Regions from separate parts of the Homo sapiens genome. Here region 1 is linked to region 2. Evidence: promoter capture Hi-C in human tissues and cell types (Jung and others, 2019). All regions are on one chromosome and are shown on one strand. The core of a region is centred on a gene start or on the middle of the fragment in contact, and the rest is flanking DNA. Distances in the headings are between cores, read along the strand shown. Region 1 has its middle 79 kb from the start of MIR621. Region 2 holds the start of SLC25A15 (solute carrier family 25 member 15).

Region 1 (4,904 bases), core at 2,372-4,871, 100 kb after region 2:
GTTGTCACAACTGGAGTTGAGGGGAGATGTGGTAATGGCATCTAGTGAGTAGAGACCACAGTTGCTACTAAACATCCTACAATATACACAGCAATCCCCCAAAATGTCAATAATGCCACTATTAAGAAATCCGATTCTGAAAAAAGGTTCCAAGATGGCCGAATAGGAACAGCTCCAGTCTACAGCTCCCAGCATGAGTGACGCAGAAGACGGGTGATTTCTGCATTTCCAACTGACCTTTGAAGAGAGTAGTAGTTCTCCCAGCATGGAGTATGAGATCTGAGAATGACAGACTGCCTCCTCAAGTGGGTCCCTGACCCCTGTGTAGCCTAACTGGGAGGCACCCCCAAGTAGGGGCAGACTGACACTTCACAAGGCCAGGTACCCCTCTGAGACGAAGCTTCCAGAGGAACAATCAGGCAGCAACATTTGCTGTTCTGCAATATTTGCAGTTCTGCAGCCTCTGCTGGTGACACCCAGGCAAACAGCGTCTGGAGTGGACCTCCAGCAAACTCCAACAGATGAGCAGCTGAGGGTCCTGACTGTTAGAAGGAAACCTAACAAACAGAAAGGACATCCACATCAAAACTCCATCTGTACGTCACCATCATCAAAGACCAAAGGTAGATAAAACCACAAAGATGGGGAGAAACCAGAGCAGAAAGGCTGAAAATTCTAAAAATCAGAGTGCCTCTTCTCCTCCAAAGGAATGTAGCTCCTCACCAGCAACGGAACAAAGCTGGATGGAGATTAACTTTGATAAGTTGAGAGAAGAAGGCTTCAGAAGATTGATAATAACTAACTTCTCTGAGCTAACGGACGATGTTCAAATCAATTGCAAAGAAGCTAAAAACCTTGAAAAAAGATTTGACGACTGGCTAACTAGAATAAACAGCATAGAGAATACCTTAAATGACCTGATGGAGCTGAAAAACATTGGAACAAGAACTACAAGACACATGCACAAGCTTCAGTAGCCGAATTGATCAACTGGAAGAAAGGGTATCAGTGATTGAGATCAAATGAATGAAATGAAGTAAGAAGAGAAGTTTAGAGAAAAAAGAGTAAAAAGAAATGAACAAAGCCTCCAAGAAATATGGGACTACGTGAAAAGACCAAATCTACGTCTGATTGGTGTACCTGAAAGTGACGGGGAGAATGCAACCAAGTTGGAAAACACTCTTCAGGATATAATCCAGGAGAACTTCCCCAACCTAGCAAGGCAGGCCAACATTTAAATTCAGGAAATACGGAGAATGCCACAAAAATACTCCTCGAGAAGAGCAACCCCAAGACTCATAATTGTGAGATTCACCAACATTGAAATGAAGGAAAAAATGTTAAGGGCAGCCAGAGAGAAAGATCGGGCTACCCACAAAGGGAAGCCCATCAGACTAACAGTGGATCTCTCGGCAGAAACTCTACAAGCCAGAAGAGAGTGGGGGCCAATATTCAACATTCTTAAAGAAAAGAATTTTCAACCCAGAATTTCATATCCAGCCAAATTAAGCTTCATAAGTGAAGGAGAAATAAAATTCTTTACAGACAAGTGAATGCTGAGAGATTTTGTCACCACCAGGTCTGCCTTACAAGAGCTCCTGAAGGAAGCACTAAACATGGAAAGGAACAACTGGTACCAGCCACTGCAAAAACATACCAAATTGTAAAGACCATAGAGGCTAGGAAGAAACTGCATCAACTAACAAGCAAAATAACCAGCTAACATCATAATGACAGGATCAAATTCACACATAACAATATTAACCTTAAATGTAAATGGACTAAATGCTCCAATTAAAAGACACAAACTGGCAAATTGGATAGAGTCAAGACCCATCAGTGTGCTGTATTCAGGAAACCCATCTCACGTGCAGAGACACACATAGGCTCAAAATAAATGGATGGAGGAAGATCTACCAAGCAAATGGAAAACAAAAAAAGCAGGGGTTGCAATCCTAGTCTCTGATAAAACAGACTTTAAACCAACAAAGATCAGAAGAGACAAAGAAGGCCATTACATAATGGTAAAGGGATCAATTCAACAAGAAAAGTTAACTATCCTAAATATATATAAACCCAAAACAGGAGCACCCAGATTCATAAGCAAGTCCTTAGAGACCTACAAAGAGACTTAGACTCCCACACAATAATAATGGGAGACTTTAACATGCCACTGTCAATATTAGACAGATCCACAAGACAGAAAGTTAACAAGGATATCCAGGAATTGAACTCAGCTCCGCACCAAGTGGACCTAATAGACATCTACAGAACTCTCCACCCCAAATCAACAGAATATACATTCTTCTCAGCACCACACCACACTTATTCCAAAATTGACTACATAGTTGGAAGTAAAGCACTCCTCAGCAAATGTAAAAGAACAGAAATTATAACAAACTGTGTCTCAGACCACAGTGCAATCAAACCAGAACTCAGGATTAAGAAACTCACTCAAAACTGCTCAACTACATGGAAACTGAACAACCTGCTCCTGAATGACTACTTGGGTACATAACGAAATAAAGGCAGAAATAAAGACGTTCTTTTAAATCAATGAGAACAAAGACACAACATACCAGAATCTCTGGGACACATTTAAAGCAGTGTGTAGACAGAAATTTATAGTACTAAATGCCCACAAGAGCAAGCAGGAAAGATCTAAAATTGACACCATAACATCACAATTAAAAGAACTAGAGAAGCAAGAGCAAACACTTCAAAAGCTAGCAGAAGCCAAGAAATAACTGAAGTGAAGGAGACAGAGACACAAAAAACCCTTCAAAAAATCAATGAATCCAGAAGCTGGTTTTTTGAAAAGATCAACAAAATTGATAGACTGCTAGCAAGATTAACAAAGAAGACAAGAGAGTAGAATCAAATAGATGCAATAAAAAATGATAAAGGGGATATCACAACCGATCCCACAGAAATACAAACTACCATCAGAGAATACTCTACACAACTCTATGCAAATGAACTAGAAAATCTAGAAGAAATTGATAAATTCCTGGACACATACACCCTCCCAAGACTAAACCAGGAAGAAGTTGAATCCCTGAATACACCAATAACAGGCTTTAAAATTGAGGCAATAATTAATACCCTACCAACCAAAAAAAGTCCAGGACCAGACGGATTCACAGCTGAATTCTACCAGAGGTACAAAGAGGAGCTGGTACCATTCCTTCTGAAACTATTCCAATCAATAGAAAAAGAGGGAGTCCTCCCTAACTCATTTTATGAGGCCAGCATCATCCTGATACCAAAGCCTGGCAGAGACACAACAAAAAAAAAGAATTTTAGACCAATATCCCTGATGAACATCAACACAAAAATCCTCAATAAAATACTGACAAACCGAATCCAGCAGCACATCAAAAAGCTTATCCACCATGATCAAGTGGGCTTCATCCCAGGAATGCAAGGCTGGTTGAACATATGCAAATCAATAAATGTAATCCAGCATATAAACAGATCCAAAGACAAAAACCACATGATTATCTCAATAGATGCAGAAAAGGCCTTTGACAAAATTCAACAACACTTCATGCTAACAACTCTCAATAAATTAGGTATTGATGGGATGTATCTCAAAATAATAAGAGCTATTTATGACAAACCCACAGCCAATATCATACTGAATGGGCAAAAACTGGAAGCATTCCCTTTGAAAACTGGCACAAGACAGGGATGCCCTCTCTCACCACTCCTATTCCACATAGTGTTGGAAGTTCTGGCCAGGGCAATCAGGCAGGAGAAAGAAATAAAGGGTATTCAATTAGGAAAAGAGGAAGTCAAATTGGCCCTGTTTGCAGATGACATGATTGTATATTTAGAAAACCCCATTGTCTCAGCCCAAAATCTCCTTAAGCTGATAAGCAACTTCAGCAAAGTCTCAGGATACAAAATCAATGTGCAAAAATCACAAGCATTCCCATACAACAATAACAGACAAACAGAGAGCCAAATCATGAGTGAACTCCCATTCACAATTGCTTCAAAGAGAATAAAATACCTAGGAATCCAACTTACAAGGGATGTGAAGGACTTGTTCAAGGAGAATTACAAACCACTGCTCAACGAAATAAAAGAGGACACAAACAAATGGAAGAACATTCCATGCTCATGGGTAGGAAGAATCAGTATCATGAAAATGGCCATACTGCCCAAGGTAATTTATAGATTCAATGCCATCCCCATCAAGCTACCAATGACTTTCTTCACAGAATTGGAAAAAACGACTTTCAAGTTCATATGGAACCAAAAAAGAGCCCACATCACCAAGTCAATCCTAAGCCAAAAGAACAAAGCTGGAGGCATCATGCTACTTGACTTCAAACTATACTACAAGGGTACGGTAACCAAAACAGTATGGTACTGGTACCAAAACAGAGATATAGACCAATGGAACAGAACAGAGCCCTCAGAAATAATACCACACATCTACAACCATCTGATCTTTGACAAACCTGAGAAAAACAAGAAATGGGGAAAGGATTCCCTATTTAATAAATGGTGCTGGGAAAACTGGCCATATGTAGAAAGCTGAAACTGGATCCCTTCCTTACACCTTATACAAAATTTAATTCAAGATGGATTAAAGACTTAAATGTCAGATCTGAAACCATAAAAACCCTAGAAGAAAACCTAGGCAATACCATTCAGGACATAGGCATGGGCAAGGACTTCATGTCTAAAACACCAAAAGCAATGGCAACAAAAGCCAAAATTGACAAATGGGATCTAATTAAACTAAAGAGCTTCTGCACAGCAAAAGAAATTACCATCAGAGTGAACAGGCAACCTACAGAATGGGAGAAAATTTTTGCAATCTATCCATCTCACAAAGGGCTGACATCTAGAATTTATTAAGAACTTAAACAAATTTACAAGAAAAAATC
Region 2 (4,936 bases), core at 2,140-4,639:
TGAGTCCCTGCTTTTCTCTTAGCGCCTGTGTAATGTGGCCTCCCAACACCTTGGTTTCTTCTCCAACCTCATTCTCACCAGCCATTGGGCTAGGCAAGGGGACACAGCAACTAAGTTGGACAGAAGACAAATAAATGAGAGTTTGTGCAAAAAACCCAAAAAAGGTAACTTTGTAGACTATGGATTAAAAATCTGAGCAAAATTCCGATAGTTTCTTATAGAACAAATTGGGAGGCATGGAGAGGAGAAATGTGGAAGGCTTGGGAGTGATGAGAGTTTGGAACAGCCCTTGTCAGGATAGGAGAGGAAGGGGCTCAAGGAAGACAAGAGAAAGCACTAGGCTAGGGCCCAATGGCTCGAGGAGAGTACCAAGCGCCCTGCATGGTGGACTGTTCCAGCAGGCTGATGGAACACAGGGGGTTCAAAGGAACCAGTGATGCAGTCATGCTGTGGCTGGGGTTTACAAAAGGCTAAGTGACTCACTAAAGGTCACACAGGGACATTTACACAAACATCCTGGCCCCAAGTCCAGTGCTCTTTCTAATCTATAACAGGGTCTTTCCTTTTTTTTTTTTTTTGACAGGGTCTTGCTCAGTCGCCCAGGCTGGACTGCAGTGGCATGAACACAGCTCAAGAGCTCTTGCCACAGCTTCCCCAGTAGCTGGGACTACAGGCATGCGCCACCACACCAGGTTTAAAAAAATTTTTTTTTGTTTTGATTTTTAGTAAAGACAGGGGCTCACTGATACTGTCATTGCAAAAATTATAACCAAGAAAATTATGATGGTCAAAGAGATCTGACCTAACTGACTCTATCTTGCTTCTAACCTCCAAACTGTCCTTGTTCTGGGTGTAGGCCCAACTAACTCTGGGAGGAGCTTAGATTATAGTTTAGCGTTGAAACAAAGACGACAACAGCCCTTTCCCAAAACAAACCCCCTTCCTGCCTGGGGACTAGGCCGCCTTGTAGGACTAACAAATTAGCCACAAGTTTACAAATTATGGTTTAGGAGTCATGCAGCTGGAGACTGCAAGATTCTAAACCTCCCCAAATAGCTCCTCAGGATGACATCACTATTGTAAAACCTAAGATCACAGATAAGATTGAGATATTTTTGCAGAGCCTGTACTTGATGGATTGATCAGCTGGCACTACCCAGATTGATAAACTGCCTCATCTGGTTTTGTGGCCCCCACCCAGGAACCGACTCAGCGTAAGAGGACAGTTTAGACTCCCTATGATTTCATCTCCAACATGACCAATCAGTACTCCCACTCACTGGCCCCCTACCCACCAAATTATCCCTAAAAACTCCAAACCCCGAATTCTTGGGGAGATTGATTTGAGTAATAATAAAACTCTGGTCTCCTGCACAGCTGGTTCTGCGTGAATTAAACTGTTTCTCTATTGCAATTCCCCCATCTTGATAAATTGGCTCAGTTGAGGCAGCGGGCGAGAAGAACCCATTGGGCAGTTACATCACTGTGTTGCCCAGGTTCAACTCGAACTCCTGGGCTCAAGCAATCCTCCTGCCTCAGCCTCCCAACATGTTGGGATTACAGGCATGAGCCACCACACCCAGCCAAGTCTGTCCTTAATCAGGGTTCCTTTGGGTCTCATTTTCTGAAGCTGCAAAAGCTATTGGACCAGGTGACATTGCCAACCCCTTTAAGCTGCTGTAACTGTAGTTTCAGCTGCTGGATCTGCTTTCAGTTAGTTATGTTCCCCATCACTTTGGACAAGTCATCCCAACTCCCTGGCTTGTTTTTGTAACTCGATTACAGTCCAGAAGCCCAAGTTCTAAAGTGCTGATTCTGATGAGTGTCCATGTACCAGGCACTCTGATCCCATCATAGCATCTACTACAGCCTGGGAGGTCTACTCAAGTGTGCATTCATGTTAAGCACTAACACCAATTAAATCACTTAAATAACGTAGGTAATTATCCAATAGCACATCCAGACGTGGTGGCTCACACGTGTAATCCCAGCACTTTGAGAGGCCGAGGCAGGCAGATCACCTGAGGTCAGGAGTTCGAGACCAGCCCGGCCAAGGTGGTGAAACCCTGTCTCTACTAAAAAATACAAAATTAGCTGGGTGTGGTGGCGCATGCCTGTAATCCCAGCTACTTGGGAAGCTAAGGCAGGAGAATCGCTTGAACCCAGGAGGGGGAGGTTGCAGTGAGCTGAGATTGCACCATTGCACTCCAGCTCGGGTGACAGAGTGAGACTCTGTCTCAAAAAAAAAAAGAAAAAAAAAGAAAAAAATAATAATCCAACAGCACATCTAAACAAGGCTTAAAGTTGTAAAATAAAATTACACTGTGTGGAGGGTGTGTGTGTGTGTGTGTGTGTGTGTGTGTGGGTGAGAGAGAGAGAGAGAGAGAGATGAGGTCTCTGTCATCCAGGCTGGAGTGCAACAGTGCCATCATAGCTCACTGCGGCCTCCAATTCCTGGCCTCAAGCGATCCTCCCGCCTTGGCCTCCCAAATAGCTAAGAATAGAGGCATGTGTCACCACACCTTTTTTTTTTTGTCGTTGTTTGTTTGTTTTTATGAAACGGAGTCTCGCTGTGTAGCCCAGGCTGGAGTGTAGTGATGCAATCTTGGCTCACTGCAACCTTCACCTCCCAGATTCAAGCGATTCTCCTGCCTCAGCCTCCCTAGTAGCTGGGGTTACAGACACGCACCACCACGCTGGATAAATTTTTGTAATTTTAGTACACGGGGTTTCACCATGTTGGCCAGGCTGGTCTTGGACTCCTGACCTCAGGTGATCCGCCTACCTCGGCCTCCCACAGTGCTGGGATTACAGGCGTGAGCCACCATGCCCGGCTAATTCCTGTATTTTCATACTTAGTTGTATTTCCTATTAGGGCCTTGGATCCCGAGTATAATTTTGTACTCAAATATAATTTATAAATAAGGCCTTAGCCTCCCAACAAGGTCAAAGTAGCTAAAAAGTAAGTCCTCCCAACCACTGACATTACCAGCCCCCAGCCCCCAGTCCCAGCCCAGCGGGCTAACAAGGGTCCGGCCTCAGAGAGGGTCTCGGGGATCCCAGAGGTGGGAAAGTCTCCGGAGGCGCAGGCCCCGCTCTCCACCTTCACCAGGGTCGGCGGCAGCACCACGCCGGGTCGCGGGCTGGCTGTGCGCGCCGCGGCCCCACGCCCACTTCCGCTTCCCGTGCTGGGGGCGGTGGCAGGGCCGGTGGGCGGTGGCGGCTCCCGGTCTCGGCTCGGGCACGGCCCTGGGCAGGCCGCCCGCCAGCCGCAGGGGCGCTCCTGAGCTTCGCGGGGCCGCAGTCCGGGATGCCTGCGCGAAGGGAGGGGCGAAGGGCCGGCCGTTGCCGACGTGGGTGTTAAGTGGCCGCCCCAGCCGGCGACCCGGAGCCGAGAGCGGGCGGCGGAGCCTGAGCTGGACGCGGCCACGCCGGCGCGGCGGTGAGCGCAGCCCGGTCTGGCGCCTGCAGCTGCGGGGAGCGCGCCAGGCAGAGGGAGCGGGGAGCGGGGCGCGGGGCGGGCCTCGGTGTGCGGGCGGCGTGACCTTCCCGAGCGGCGGGGGAAGCGGCCAGCGTCGCAGCGCACGTGCCGCGGGACTCGGAGAATCTCGGGGTTGTCGGCCTCCTTCCTGCAGTGCCCACCTGGTGGGAACTTTTGTCCTTGTTTGCCCCCAAGTCCTGTCATTTGGCTGCGGGGCTCCGCGCCTCAGGGGCGCCAGTGCTGGGCAGCATGGAGCCGCTTGTGAATGGAGACTTGCTGGCTGCCCAGGAGTGGGCGGCTGGGCAGGGGCGGTGAACGTTTAGGGTCCGGCCAAGAAAGTTGGAAGTCGTCTCCCTGACCTGTTCCTTGCGAGGCCCGGGAGGAGACGCGCCTGGCCGGTCCTTGGCGGCGAAACTGATTTGCATCTCCACGCTTTACCTAAAGCCCGGGCTCTGGGGACTGGATGGCGAGCTGGCCTGCGGCTCCTTTAGCCAGAAGCTGGGATCTTCCCGCAGCAGTTCGTGTTCCCTGGTGGAAAATGCAGCCTCATCTACTGACTCTCCCTTCCAAAAAAAAGTTATTTTCCCCAAGGGTCGAGAAAAGTGGGTGGTCGGCACTGTTGTTCCTCAGTTGCACCCTGGTGTAATTTGAGAGAGGGGTCAAAGGCGCTGAAAAGATTCTTTTTTCTATTCCAAGTGCTACAGCAAGCTCATAAATCAATTTTAATTCATGCTGAACAGTCTTGCCTCCTCCAAGCCCTGTGTCTTCTCCAAGCCAGAGCTACACATAATGTGAATTAGCTGCCCACTCCTTCTGAGTGAATCTGTTAGTACCCATCATCGTTTTCTATCCTAATAATTCTAATGGCTATTTGTAGAATTTATTTGTTTGTTTATTTTTTTGAGACGGAGTTTCGCTCTTGTTGCCCAGGCTGGAGTGCAATGGGGCGATCTCGGCTCACCGCAACCTCCGCCTCCTGGGTTCAAGCTATTCTCCTCCCTCAGCCTCCCGAGTAGCTGGGATTACAAGCATGGCCCACCACGCCAGGCTAATTTTGTATTTTTAATAGAGACGGGGGTTTCTCATGTTGGTCAGGCTGGTCTCGAACTCCCGACCTCAGGTGATCCGCCCGCCTTGGCCTCCCAAAGTGCTGGGATTACAGGCGTGAGCCACTGTGCCTGGCCTATTTGTAGAATTTAATGTGTTTAAGTTTGGCTCACCTAACAGGGTTTAATTCTTAGGGACAGATAGAATGTAATGTGATGTGACTTTCCTTCAAAATTAAGAAGGAAGTGTCTGTGCCAAAAGAAATAAGCGCATTGAGGTTTATCTAGGAGGCCACATTGTACTTGCCTCTGTCTGTCTGCTCAGTTGCCCCCGTTTTTTTCTTTCCCAAAAATATAGGGTTGGGTGTTTTGTGTTGCCTTTGGCCAGGTTGAAATACTCAGATTAACG

Evidence for each region. The method cuts DNA at HindIII sites, captures the fragments that hold promoters and counts their contacts. A contact is called where the count stands out against the background at its distance.
Region 1: a contact is called between a fragment that was not itself captured here and the fragment with the promoter of SLC25A15 in region 2, in 2 of the 25 tissues and cell types used here (H1 embryonic stem cells and dorsolateral prefrontal cortex).

What each region holds. Positions count from the first base shown.
Region 1 is chr13:40,887,348-40,892,251 of GRCh38, forward strand. It overlaps the pseudogene TPTE2P5. Among named protein-coding and RNA genes, the nearest start is that of MIR621, 79 kb to the left of the region's middle. The HindIII fragment of the contact is 5,874 bases long and covers 685-4,904 here.
Region 2 is chr13:40,786,222-40,791,157 of GRCh38, forward strand. SLC25A15 (solute carrier family 25 member 15) reads left to right here and starts at 3,390. Exons shown (of 7, transcript NM_014252.4): 1 at 3,390-3,442. RefSeq lists silencers at 2,960-3,539, 4,672-4,936. The HindIII fragment of the contact is 20,114 bases long and covers 1-4,936 here.